4 separate regions of the Homo sapiens genome follow, and regions 1, 2 and 3 are each linked to region 4. The links are contacts of gene promoters, found by promoter capture Hi-C in blood cells and fetal thymus (Javierre and others, 2016). All regions are on one chromosome and are shown on one strand. Each heading gives the region's core, a stretch centred on a gene start or on the middle of the fragment in contact. The rest is flanking DNA. Distances are from core to core; before and after follow the strand shown. Region 1 holds the start of LHFPL6 (LHFPL tetraspan subfamily member 6). Region 2 overlaps COG6 (component of oligomeric golgi complex 6). Region 3 holds the start of VWA8 (von Willebrand factor A domain containing 8). Region 4 holds the start of SLC25A15 (solute carrier family 25 member 15).

Region 1 (3,008 bases), core at 197-2,696, 1.2 Mb after region 4:
TCAAATGATTGACATTTTGGCCCAGGTAATTTTGGGGACTGTCCTGTGCACTGTATTTAGCAGAATCTCGGGTCTTTACCAACTAGATGCCAGTAATACTCCCCATTCATGGGTTATGATAATCAAAATTATCTTCAGACCTTGCCAAATATCCCTTTCCTTCTTCAGAATCGCTGTGGTAAAGCTTTATATGTCCGCGCATTTTTTTTTCTGGAAGGCTTATCAGTTTCATCGTATTTTTTAAAAGACCTGTGACCTCAAAAGGCTTGGAATCAATCACTTAAGGTCTTTCAAAATAATAATAAAAGAACACATATCTCCAGCTGTCGTTGTGGGAAAAATGTACACCATCACGGCTAATTAAAATGGTGCAGTCTGAAAATCTGCTATGAAATATATACCTACCAATTTATTACTTTCAACTCCTCTAAAAAGACACCTCACAAAAACTATATCTGGGAAACTGTCTACTTCAAAAACTGCTGTTCCCAGATGGCATACTTCTTAAAATACTGTGTTCAGCAGAGACTCCCACAGTCATCTACTGAATCTAGCTCTAAACTTCTAAAGGGGTTAGTGCTAATGACAAGTGGAAAAAGTCCTCAAGTCCAGAGGGGAACTAAAAATCAGTTGTTTCTCAGAAAAGAAATCAAACGATGGAATAAATTGCAAAATTGATCAGGAGGCAGGATGGAGGAGAAGGGAGGGAGGAAGTGAAGGGAAAGGGAGGGAGGGAGGGAGAGAGAGACAGAGAAACAGCAAGAGAGAGAGAGAGAGACCTTTGAAAGAGTGTATCTCTTGGGAGAGGCTCGCTAGAGGTCCGCCCCTGCCTTCTCCCTGGCTCGTCTGGAAAGGCAGCTGCCCCCATGCCATACATGAGCCTTGGGCTGTCTGCTGTGCTTTAATTCCCACGTCCACAACCGCCTCATTCACCGCCTTCCAAAGTGACCACTTCTCAAAAGCCTCCTCAAATCTCAAAGGGGCCACTTTACCCACTCTTTAAGGCCCTCTTTCCCGTCTACGGCTTCTTTTAACGGCGGCAGGAAAACAGGAGCATAAACCCGAACAGTAAACCCAGAAAAGCCCCAACAGGCAAAGTGTGTCATCTTCCGTGGCTCCTCGGGGTCACCCAGGAAGACAAGCAACTTTCTCCCATACTTCTCGGTCTGTCTGCCTTCCCCACTCAGCTTTGAATGAGACGCAGGGAGAGGGGGCGCGAGGGGGCTCGGGGCTAGGGGAGGAGCCGCGAAAGCTGCCCCCGGGGGTGGGCCTGGACCCGCGCGGACAGCGGGGCACCCCCCCACTCCCTTCCCGGCGCTCCAGGAACGTCCCCGGTGCGTCCTGGGTCTGTCTGCGCGGAGTTCCCCGGGGCGCGAGGGGAGGGGACTGGAGAAAGAGGAGGGCCGGGCAGCGGAGGGGAGGAGGCGGTGCGTGCCTCGCCTGCCAAAGGGAGATCCGCTCCTCTGCGTGCGATCCCCGGCGCCCGCGCGCGCCCACAGCGCTCCGCCAGAGCTGCCGCCGCGGACTCGCCGGGAGTGGGGGTCTCCGCTGGTGCCAGCCCGCTTCTGGAGACCCTCCGCCTCCTGCCAACCCCTGCTCTTCCAGGTCGGGCCCCGGGGTTCTGCGGCTGTTAGGGACAGAGGCAAAGAAGGGCAGGACGGTCCGGTTTCCCGTGGATGTTCCCGCCCGAGAAAGACAGCAAGTTGTGTGTGCGCCCGGGACGCGGGAGGGAAGGTGGCCGCCGCCCGCCAGCCATGTAAGTAAATCACTCGGCTGCCCCGTGGGCGTGGGCTCCGCTGCTTTCTCCCGGGCTCCCTCTCTGCCCCGGAGCCGGAGTTGGGCTGCTCCCGGGCTCCGGACTTCCTGAGCTCGGCGGATCCGTCGGCTCTGCCTGCCAGCCGCGTCCGCTCTTGGCGTCTGCCTCCGGGGGGTGCTGCCTTCCCATCCTTATCCCCTCCCTTCGTCCAGAGCCGGCTGGAAAATGCCTCTTGCCCCCTTTTAGAATGGAGGGATCATTGTGTGTCTCCATGGGTGGAGTGGCTCGGTGAGGCAATGGCAGGGGGCTAAATATGGGCTTGTCTTGGCGAGGGCGCCTCACCGCAGTTGGAGATGGGGGCCCCCTGCCCGCAGGCCACCCCCTGCTGGTCTTCCCCAGCCTCGTGGCCCAGATAGATCAACTTCAGCCCTGACTGCAGTTGACAAGATTAGAAAAAAAAGTAGTAGCCGACCTCCCGTTTGAGTGACATCCAGAACTGAAAATGGGCGGTGGTTAGAGAAAAAAACGGGTAGGGGCGAGGTGAAGAAAGGGGGAAATTTGCTATGGACCCTGAAAGCTGGAGTTAGGGGTCCTGGGGGTGGAATTCTAGGGTGGATGGGCTCTGTGCTTCTGTATTCATTTCTTTATGGAAAGTGTGAGAAATGGTTAAGGAACTCTTTTTGAAAGGCTGGGGTGGAAGTAGATGCCCCTGGAACCATTTGGATGACTGGGGTTTGATGTAGCATACTGGGAAGTATGGATTGCTGTTCAAATTAGACAATCATTCAGTGGGAGAAATGATTGCAATAGAACTGTTGGAATCAATGAATCAAAACTGCAGACTCAAAATAAGTCATACACAGGCATTCTTTTACACTAGAAGATGTTAAGACTAAAGAAATTCTGAAATGCTGCTGAATGAGTACAAAGAGTGTCTGGTAATAGTTCTGTACTGTGGGTGCCTCCGCAGACCATAATGCTTGTTAAATTTATGGTACTCTGCAATTGTGAAAAATTATCCTAATTAGTTTGTTTGGCTCATGCAGAGAGTTAATGCACCCTTAAAGGGACATAGAAAAGTTGCAACAAACTATGAGCATGAACTTGCAAGCCAAAAAATGGAAATCATGGCATGGTTCATTTTATTTTAATTGTTTATTGCCCAGTGAAAGTGCTACATTACTTTTAATGTGAGTATATAATATATAGAATGAATTCATTGGCCTGTCAAATAAAAATCGGGCGTTTCTTT
Region 2 (3,100 bases), core at 453-2,952, 1.1 Mb after region 4:
AACACCTAAGAAAATACATCTAAATAAATGTATTAAACAATCTATCATTTCCCCACTAATAGATGCTATCTTTATTATATATTAAATTCTAAATGTTTTTTCTTGTGGGAATACTTTCAAGCATGGAATGCTCCCAAGGGAAAAAAACTATAAAAAAAGTTCTATTGAACTATAAAAAAATTAAAAGTTGATGTGTCAGAAAATACTACAGGCAAATTTTAAAGGCAAATGATAACGTGGAGAAAATGTCTGTAATATATATGATGGAGTTAATATTCTTAATGCATAAAGAATATCAGAAATGAACAAGACAACCCAATAGGAAAATGGCAAAGGACTTGAACAAGCAATTCACAAACAGCCAAAAACATATCTTAAAATGTTCATTCTCACTAGAATCACAGAAATCCAAATGAGAAAAACAACAAAATGTCGCTTTTGCTCGTCATGTTGGTAAAGATTTTTTTTTAATGTCCATTATCCAGTTTTAGCAAGAGTTGGCACTTTTTCAGTAGGAGGTAGTATGGTAGATTTGAGGAAATGGGTGAAAATAAGTGAGGTAAATGTGAGTGGCTGCCAAAGGACAATCAGTATTTGCTGGACCTCCTGGGGGGCTTTCCTGATGTTGGAGACAATTTTTAGTGATTCCTGTCTGTATGATGTAATTTTCTTTAGCAGAGCTCAGGAAAAATTGAAAAATTGAATTAACTCAAGGTGGTTTTGCAAAGTGAATGTGGTAAAATGGCAAGGGTGCAAGAGATTTAAAGCTAATGGCAAGATAGTGATGGAATATAGGCCAGCAGAAAATGAACTGAACCATTCATGTTACCAGTATTTATTGAGCACCTCATGAGCTGGTATATAAGAAAATTAATTACATTTGTATATTGATCTTTTCACCAACGACTTCACTAGAATTCATTTTCTGGTTGTATAGCTTTTTAGTTGATTCTCCTAGGTCTTCAAAATAGACTATCATAACATCCATAAATAATCTAATGTCTCCTCCTTTAAAATATTTACAATTCATTTCTTTATCTCATCTTTCTACCGTGGTTATTATTTAAAAGTATTGGCAAGCATTCTTGTTCTTCACTTAAATAGAAGAACCACTAGTGTGTCAATATTAATTATGATGTTGGCTGTTAGTTTTATCTCTCTTTATATGGTTAAGGAAGTATTCATCAATGACTTGTTTTAATATTAAGATTTTCCCCAATGTGATCAAATATGAGAATATAAAATTTATTTTATATACTCATTTAGTATATTTCCTAACACTGAAACATTCTTATATTCATGTAATAAACCATTCTTGGTTTTAATATATAAATGCTGAATTTTGAAGTTTTAAAACTTAAAAAGTGACTAATCTATGGTTTCCACTACTGACTATCTTTAAAAGGTTTTATGTCGGTGTTATACTACCTAAAACAAACTGGGAAGCTTTCCATATTTTTTCATGTTCTGGAGAATTATCTGTTCCTCCTAAGGATGAATGAAGTTCTCTATATAATCTGAACTAGGCCTGGCAACACGTTCTTTAATAACTTTTCTTCCTTCCTTAGGTATATTCACACTTTCCACTTCCTTTTGACTCACATTTTACCAATTTATGTCACCTTAAAAAGCATTCATCTTATTCTGATTTTCAGATGATTAGCACAAAACTGCACATGGTACTCTCTAAGTTTTAATTCTCATCTGTGGATTGTCTCTAATTTCTAAAAACTTCTAATTTTCTTTTTTTCTTGATTAGACTTGCTAGAAGTTTGTCAATTTTGTTTATCTTTTCAACAAATAATTCTGCTTTTGTTTTCTAATTTGTCACGGAAATTTAATTCCATCCTTTCCATATATCTTCATTTTATTGCTCTGTTTCAAATTTTTTAATACAAACGCCTAATGCATCTATTTTCAGTCTTGAGGCCCATATGTTTTCTAATTGGTAAAGCTTTGGGTAATATGCTTACCCATGAACTTTTCTACGTACTACAACCTGGCTCCTATCTCCACCACAGGACTAAAATTGCCCATTTAGGTCACCTATCACATATATATTGCCAAAGATAACAAGCCTCCTACTTGAACTCTTTAAAAGCATCTGTCATTATTAACCATGCCCTCCTTCTAGAAACTGTCTTCTCTTGGCTTTTCTGATAAAACCTTATCCTAATTTTTGTCCTGCCTCTCTGGCCATCCTCTCTCAGCATCATACTGTTGACGTTTTTCCTTCTCTTAAACGTCAGTGTTTCCCAAGACTGTGTCCTGGTAGCTCTACTCATAAAAAAAATTATTCCTAGTGACTTCATCCAAACCCATGAATTCAACTATCTCTTATATGTAAAACTCTCTAAATCCAAATGTATCACTCCCTTTTAGATTAGACCAATTCCAGAGGGATCTCTCATAGGCACCTCAAACTCAACTTATCTAACTTAGATGATACCATCTTTATCTCCCAAATTGTACCCTCTTTCTGCATTCTAGATATTTGTGATTAGCCTAGGAATTATTCTAGATGACTCCCTCTCACTAACCCACATTCAGTCATCAAGTTTTGAAGATTTTACCTTTACCCTTCATGAATCTGTCCCCTCTTGCCTATTCCCAGAGTCTTTCCCTTAGATCATGTATGAATAAAAACAGTTTCAATACTCCTTTAATTTTCCTATTTCCAACCTAGCCTCCCCACTTATATATATAAAACACATCACTTTACAAGTGATATTTTTTAATAAATGAAAAATTCTTTTATAGGTAACTCATACTCATGTTCTAGCATATTCTATTTCTTTCTTCTATTTAAGATGACCTCTATGCACTCCTTTCCTCACCTATCTAAAGCCTACCTGTTCTTCAAAGTTCAACTCCATTACATCTCTCTATGGAAAGCTTCCTCTCTGTAAAGGAGTACAGATAAGTTTGCTAAATATACTCCTCCTTTGGTGCTAGCATATACCCTAGGCACATGTCTTTCATAAATCATAGAATTCTATAATAACCAGACTTATTTGGTCATTTTCCACTAAAGGAAAAGCAACCTTAATGAGGCCAACAGATGTTGAGTGTTCATCCTTGTACTCTCAACAGCTAGCAC
Region 3 (3,190 bases), core at 659-3,158, 1.2 Mb before region 4:
TCTTTATTTGCATATTTATCATCAATACCTAATGTGAGCCCATTGATTCACAGTATCTAGCAGGGTACTGTTTATACAGCAGTTACTCAATAAATGTTGTCGTTGGGAGGCTGAGGCAGGAGGATCACTTGAGGCCAGGAGCTTGAGACCAGCCTGGGCAACATAACAAGACTCCACTGCTACGAAAACAAAAACACAAAAATTAGCCAGGCACAGTGGTGCACGCCTGTAGTCTCAGCTACTAGGGAGGCTGAAGCAGGAGGATCACTCGAGCCCAGGAGTTCGAGGTTGCAATGAGCTATAATACTGCCGCTGCACCCCAGCCTGGGCAACAGAGTGAGACTTTGTCTCTAAAAAAAATAAAACTAGGCAAAAAATGTTGTTGAATGCTCTAACTTGTGTTGATCTCTCCATTGTCTTAACTCCAAGAGCTCTTAGTGCTTATATCAACCACTTTGCAAAATTGCCTTAGGTTGTTCTCCCATTCTTTCAGGTGTCTACTGAGTTCCAGCGAGATTAAATGGAGATATCTTGACCAAGGTATTCAATTCTTCTAGCCTCAGTTTCTTCATCTGTAAAACGGAGGATAATAATAGTACCTCAAAGCATTTTTATGTGAAATGGGATAATTCATTAAAATCTTGATACATACAATGTGCTCAAAGTAGGAAAAGCATTTTATAAGCTTACATCCTAAATTTATGTCTTAGGGTTGCTATGAGGATTAAATGAGAAGATACACATGAAACGAAGTCATAATATATTGTGTAACTACTTATTACCTTTATTTTCACTGTCTCCTCATCTAGGTTAGAAGCCTGGTTCAGCCTTCATTCCTCAAGTTCTTCCGCTGGATGCCCAAAGCCTTCCTTACCTAGCCTTGTTTGACTTTTACAGTCTCCACTCTAACACTCTCTTCTCAGCACTCATCACAGGGTCAGGCGCAGGGTAGGTGCTATGTATTTAGACAGTGGCAGCTCTAGAATTAGCAAGGTCTTTAGCTGAAAGTGAGGTCTTCTGCCTTCTTTTTGATGTTTGCTTGTATAACTTGTCTCAAATATTTTGCCTTAGTCAATTCACTGTGACATTTTGGGGATGCAGTCTAATTACATTAGGCTTAGTTTGCTTTGTGGTAGGACCATTTCCGATGTTGGAATGTACAAGAGGGAGGCAGCCTTAGCCAGTGTCCTACTTTTTCCTTTACTAAAGACATAAATCATCTTTATATAACTTTTGTATTACAGCATGACTAGAAAAGTGCTTGATCTGGATCCTTTCTGATATTTAAGCAATTTCCATCTATCACTAAGATGTGAATTTTTTCCTTAGAATTTAGGAAGCGGTAATAAAACACAGAAACAAACAACCACCACCAAAAGGACAAAGGGTAAAGCTTTCACGTACGGTTTGGAAACACTAGTGTGGTTACAATGAATCAAGACAGTTGTGAAAGTTCCCATCATCTTGTGCATGTTTTCTCCATTTCCGAAATCTGAAGCCGAATACAGGGAAAGCTCCCTATACTTACTGGGCCTTTAACTAAGAAACGAAGACTTGGGGCAAGCATCTGAAGAGTCACACCGACAAATGCTCCTAAAACCCTTGGCATTTACTGAACTCCTGAGATTCTGTGGGATCGCAGGGAAACGGCGGGTGAAGGCCTGGTGCATCCAGGTGAACAGACAGTCTCACGGACTGCGAGGCGCTTGCCAGAGCCCAGCGCCGCAGCTCGGAGCACCCCCGCGGTGCGGGCAGTCCCGGGACGGTGCCGGCTCTTTGGGCTGGAGCTCCGCAGGCTCTTTCCGCCCGTCTGGGCCATGCAGGGCCGGGTAGGGCCGGGCTGAGTCTACTGAGCCGGCCGCGCCGCGGGGGAAGGAGTTTCCGGCGGACTCGGCTAGGTGCCGCTTCCTGTCCCCTTCTCCGCGCTGCCTCACGGTGCCTGCACGGGACGCCGCTCGATCCCCGAGCCCCCTCGCCGTCCCCGACAGCCCCCCCGGCGCCATGCAATCCCGGCTTCTACTCCTCGGGGCACCCGGAGGCCACGGCGGCCCGGCCTCGCGGCGCATGCGGCTGCTCCTGCGGCAGGTGGTGCAGCGCAGGCCGGGTGGCGACAGGCAGCGGCCGGAGGTCAGACTGTTGCACGCCGGCTCGGGGGCCGACACAGGTAACTCGGGGTGCGCCCCTGTCCTCCCTGGTGCCCCTGCGCTCCGTGCCGGGTCCCCGCGCGCCCCCGCCCCTCCTCTCTGTTGCTTCGCTGCGCTTGGAAGGACCGTTTGCCGAGCGGGGAGCTGAAAGATTGAGGTTCTAGTCCCGACCTCGGCGCTAACTGCTGTGTAACGTGGGGGCAAGGCGCTCGCCCTCTCTGTGCCTGATTCTGCAACCCGAGGGGTCTGGACTAAGGTTTCTGATGACCTAGAAGAGTGATTTCTCCTTCCCCTGCCGCTGCCTTTACCCCCAGAATTCTGACTTAGGTTATAATACTCGTAGAGGTTAATGCCTCAGCCCTATGGAATTATTGAAAGCTGGATTTGACCTTGCTCTCTGAGCCTCAAGGGCCTGGAAGCCGGTCTGTGTCATGTTCTAGCCAGGGCTTGTGGCGGCTTAGAAGGGAACATTCTTGCCAAAGAACCCATAGTTCACGGTGTTTTAAATGCATCCCCGAGCCTTTCCAAGTTTTACAGGAGTTTTCCTTAAAGTTTCACGTAATTCTTAGAGCTGACAGTTACACCTTAATTTAGTTAAAACACTTGCCTCTACAAATGAGGTAATTGAAACCCAGAAGGGAAAAGTGATTCGCTGGAGAACACACAACTAATTACTATGCTAGAATCACATGCTTTGATTTCTAAGCTCAGTATTTTTTGGCTCTACTTGAGCTGGTTTTAGGAATTCTTTTTCTTGTGTGTTGGTGGAGTTAGAGTTACTGTGATGGTTAAGGAAAGGATATCTGTTGTTGCTACCCTTGAATGGTGAAGTGATTCCAGACAAGATTTTGTCAATGTCAGTGCTGCTTGGAATAACAGGTTTTCACTATGAAATTGTAGGTTTCGTTGTCCTCTTGCATTTTCCCCGCAACCCCCAGTTTTCCTTGCTAAGAAATGAGCATATGGGCCGGGCGCGGTGGCTCACGCCTGTAATCCCAGCACTTTGGGAGGCTGAGGCGGGCGGATCACGGGGTCAGGAGATCGAG
Region 4 (3,019 bases), core at 340-2,839:
GTTCAAAGTCCTGTCTTTTCAGGCCTGTGCCTACAAACCAACCGTTAATCTGAGTATTTCAACCTGGCCAAAGGCAACACAAAACACCCAACCCTATATTTTTGGGAAAGAAAAAAACGGGGGCAACTGAGCAGACAGACAGAGGCAAGTACAATGTGGCCTCCTAGATAAACCTCAATGCGCTTATTTCTTTTGGCACAGACACTTCCTTCTTAATTTTGAAGGAAAGTCACATCACATTACATTCTATCTGTCCCTAAGAATTAAACCCTGTTAGGTGAGCCAAACTTAAACACATTAAATTCTACAAATAGGCCAGGCACAGTGGCTCACGCCTGTAATCCCAGCACTTTGGGAGGCCAAGGCGGGCGGATCACCTGAGGTCGGGAGTTCGAGACCAGCCTGACCAACATGAGAAACCCCCGTCTCTATTAAAAATACAAAATTAGCCTGGCGTGGTGGGCCATGCTTGTAATCCCAGCTACTCGGGAGGCTGAGGGAGGAGAATAGCTTGAACCCAGGAGGCGGAGGTTGCGGTGAGCCGAGATCGCCCCATTGCACTCCAGCCTGGGCAACAAGAGCGAAACTCCGTCTCAAAAAAATAAACAAACAAATAAATTCTACAAATAGCCATTAGAATTATTAGGATAGAAAACGATGATGGGTACTAACAGATTCACTCAGAAGGAGTGGGCAGCTAATTCACATTATGTGTAGCTCTGGCTTGGAGAAGACACAGGGCTTGGAGGAGGCAAGACTGTTCAGCATGAATTAAAATTGATTTATGAGCTTGCTGTAGCACTTGGAATAGAAAAAAGAATCTTTTCAGCGCCTTTGACCCCTCTCTCAAATTACACCAGGGTGCAACTGAGGAACAACAGTGCCGACCACCCACTTTTCTCGACCCTTGGGGAAAATAACTTTTTTTTGGAAGGGAGAGTCAGTAGATGAGGCTGCATTTTCCACCAGGGAACACGAACTGCTGCGGGAAGATCCCAGCTTCTGGCTAAAGGAGCCGCAGGCCAGCTCGCCATCCAGTCCCCAGAGCCCGGGCTTTAGGTAAAGCGTGGAGATGCAAATCAGTTTCGCCGCCAAGGACCGGCCAGGCGCGTCTCCTCCCGGGCCTCGCAAGGAACAGGTCAGGGAGACGACTTCCAACTTTCTTGGCCGGACCCTAAACGTTCACCGCCCCTGCCCAGCCGCCCACTCCTGGGCAGCCAGCAAGTCTCCATTCACAAGCGGCTCCATGCTGCCCAGCACTGGCGCCCCTGAGGCGCGGAGCCCCGCAGCCAAATGACAGGACTTGGGGGCAAACAAGGACAAAAGTTCCCACCAGGTGGGCACTGCAGGAAGGAGGCCGACAACCCCGAGATTCTCCGAGTCCCGCGGCACGTGCGCTGCGACGCTGGCCGCTTCCCCCGCCGCTCGGGAAGGTCACGCCGCCCGCACACCGAGGCCCGCCCCGCGCCCCGCTCCCCGCTCCCTCTGCCTGGCGCGCTCCCCGCAGCTGCAGGCGCCAGACCGGGCTGCGCTCACCGCCGCGCCGGCGTGGCCGCGTCCAGCTCAGGCTCCGCCGCCCGCTCTCGGCTCCGGGTCGCCGGCTGGGGCGGCCACTTAACACCCACGTCGGCAACGGCCGGCCCTTCGCCCCTCCCTTCGCGCAGGCATCCCGGACTGCGGCCCCGCGAAGCTCAGGAGCGCCCCTGCGGCTGGCGGGCGGCCTGCCCAGGGCCGTGCCCGAGCCGAGACCGGGAGCCGCCACCGCCCACCGGCCCTGCCACCGCCCCCAGCACGGGAAGCGGAAGTGGGCGTGGGGCCGCGGCGCGCACAGCCAGCCCGCGACCCGGCGTGGTGCTGCCGCCGACCCTGGTGAAGGTGGAGAGCGGGGCCTGCGCCTCCGGAGACTTTCCCACCTCTGGGATCCCCGAGACCCTCTCTGAGGCCGGACCCTTGTTAGCCCGCTGGGCTGGGACTGGGGGCTGGGGGCTGGTAATGTCAGTGGTTGGGAGGACTTACTTTTTAGCTACTTTGACCTTGTTGGGAGGCTAAGGCCTTATTTATAAATTATATTTGAGTACAAAATTATACTCGGGATCCAAGGCCCTAATAGGAAATACAACTAAGTATGAAAATACAGGAATTAGCCGGGCATGGTGGCTCACGCCTGTAATCCCAGCACTGTGGGAGGCCGAGGTAGGCGGATCACCTGAGGTCAGGAGTCCAAGACCAGCCTGGCCAACATGGTGAAACCCCGTGTACTAAAATTACAAAAATTTATCCAGCGTGGTGGTGCGTGTCTGTAACCCCAGCTACTAGGGAGGCTGAGGCAGGAGAATCGCTTGAATCTGGGAGGTGAAGGTTGCAGTGAGCCAAGATTGCATCACTACACTCCAGCCTGGGCTACACAGCGAGACTCCGTTTCATAAAAACAAACAAACAACGACAAAAAAAAAAAGGTGTGGTGACACATGCCTCTATTCTTAGCTATTTGGGAGGCCAAGGCGGGAGGATCGCTTGAGGCCAGGAATTGGAGGCCGCAGTGAGCTATGATGGCACTGTTGCACTCCAGCCTGGATGACAGAGACCTCATCTCTCTCTCTCTCTCTCTCTCACCCACACACACACACACACACACACACACACACCCTCCACACAGTGTAATTTTATTTTACAACTTTAAGCCTTGTTTAGATGTGCTGTTGGATTATTATTTTTTTCTTTTTTTTTCTTTTTTTTTTTGAGACAGAGTCTCACTCTGTCACCCGAGCTGGAGTGCAATGGTGCAATCTCAGCTCACTGCAACCTCCCCCTCCTGGGTTCAAGCGATTCTCCTGCCTTAGCTTCCCAAGTAGCTGGGATTACAGGCATGCGCCACCACACCCAGCTAATTTTGTATTTTTTAGTAGAGACAGGGTTTCACCACCTTGGCCGGGCTGGTCTCGAACTCCTGACCTCAGGTGATCTGCCTGCCTCGGCCTCTCAAAGTGCTGGGATTACACGTGTGAGCCACCACGTCTGG

The links. Contacts are between HindIII fragments. The CHiCAGO score rates a contact against its expected background, and 5 or more counts as called.
Region 1: the fragment with the promoter of LHFPL6 here is called in contact with the fragment with the promoter of SLC25A15 in region 4 in 3 of 17 cell types (M1 macrophages, total B cells and activated CD4 T cells); the score reaches 6.4 in M1 macrophages.
Region 2: a contact is called between a fragment that was not itself captured here and the fragment with the promoter of SLC25A15 in region 4, in 1 of 17 cell types (total B cells). The highest score is 5.0, in total B cells.
Region 3: a contact is called between the fragment with the promoter of VWA8 here and the fragment with the promoter of SLC25A15 in region 4, in 1 of 17 cell types (non-activated CD4 T cells). The highest score is 5.4, in non-activated CD4 T cells.

What each region holds. Positions count from the first base shown.
Region 1 is chr13:39,601,631-39,604,638 of GRCh38, reverse strand. LHFPL6 (LHFPL tetraspan subfamily member 6) reads left to right here and starts at 1,446. Exons shown (of 4, transcript NM_005780.3): 1 at 1,446-1,756. LOC112268119 (protein SPT2 homolog) reads right to left here. Exons shown (of 4, transcript XM_035861111.2): 2 at 2,099-2,189; 3 at 997-1,995. RefSeq lists a silencer at 1,252-1,551. The HindIII fragment of the contact is 2,884 bases long and covers 187-3,008 here.
Region 2 is chr13:39,700,639-39,703,738 of GRCh38, reverse strand. All of the region lies in intron 13 of COG6 (component of oligomeric golgi complex 6), which reads right to left. Among named protein-coding and RNA genes, the nearest start is that of MIR4305, 38 kb to the right of the region's middle. The HindIII fragment of the contact is 508 bases long and covers 1,449-1,956 here.
Region 3 is chr13:41,959,827-41,963,016 of GRCh38, reverse strand. VWA8 (von Willebrand factor A domain containing 8) reads left to right here and starts at 1,908. Exons shown (of 45, transcript NM_015058.2): 1 at 1,908-2,164. The coding sequence starts at 2,002. It overlaps VWA8-AS1 (VWA8 antisense RNA 1), which reads right to left and starts at 1,848. Exons shown (of 4, transcript NR_039974.1): 1 at 783-1,848. RefSeq lists a silencer at 1,829-2,238 and enhancers at 2,439-2,578, 2,674-3,174, 3,175-3,190. The HindIII fragment of the contact is 5,183 bases long and covers 1,396-3,190 here.
Region 4 is chr13:40,788,181-40,791,199 of GRCh38, reverse strand. It overlaps SLC25A15 (solute carrier family 25 member 15), which reads right to left and starts at 1,589. Exons shown (of 7, transcript NM_014252.4): 1 at 1,537-1,589. RefSeq lists silencers at 13-307, 1,440-2,019. The HindIII fragment of the contact is 15,217 bases long and covers 1-3,019 here.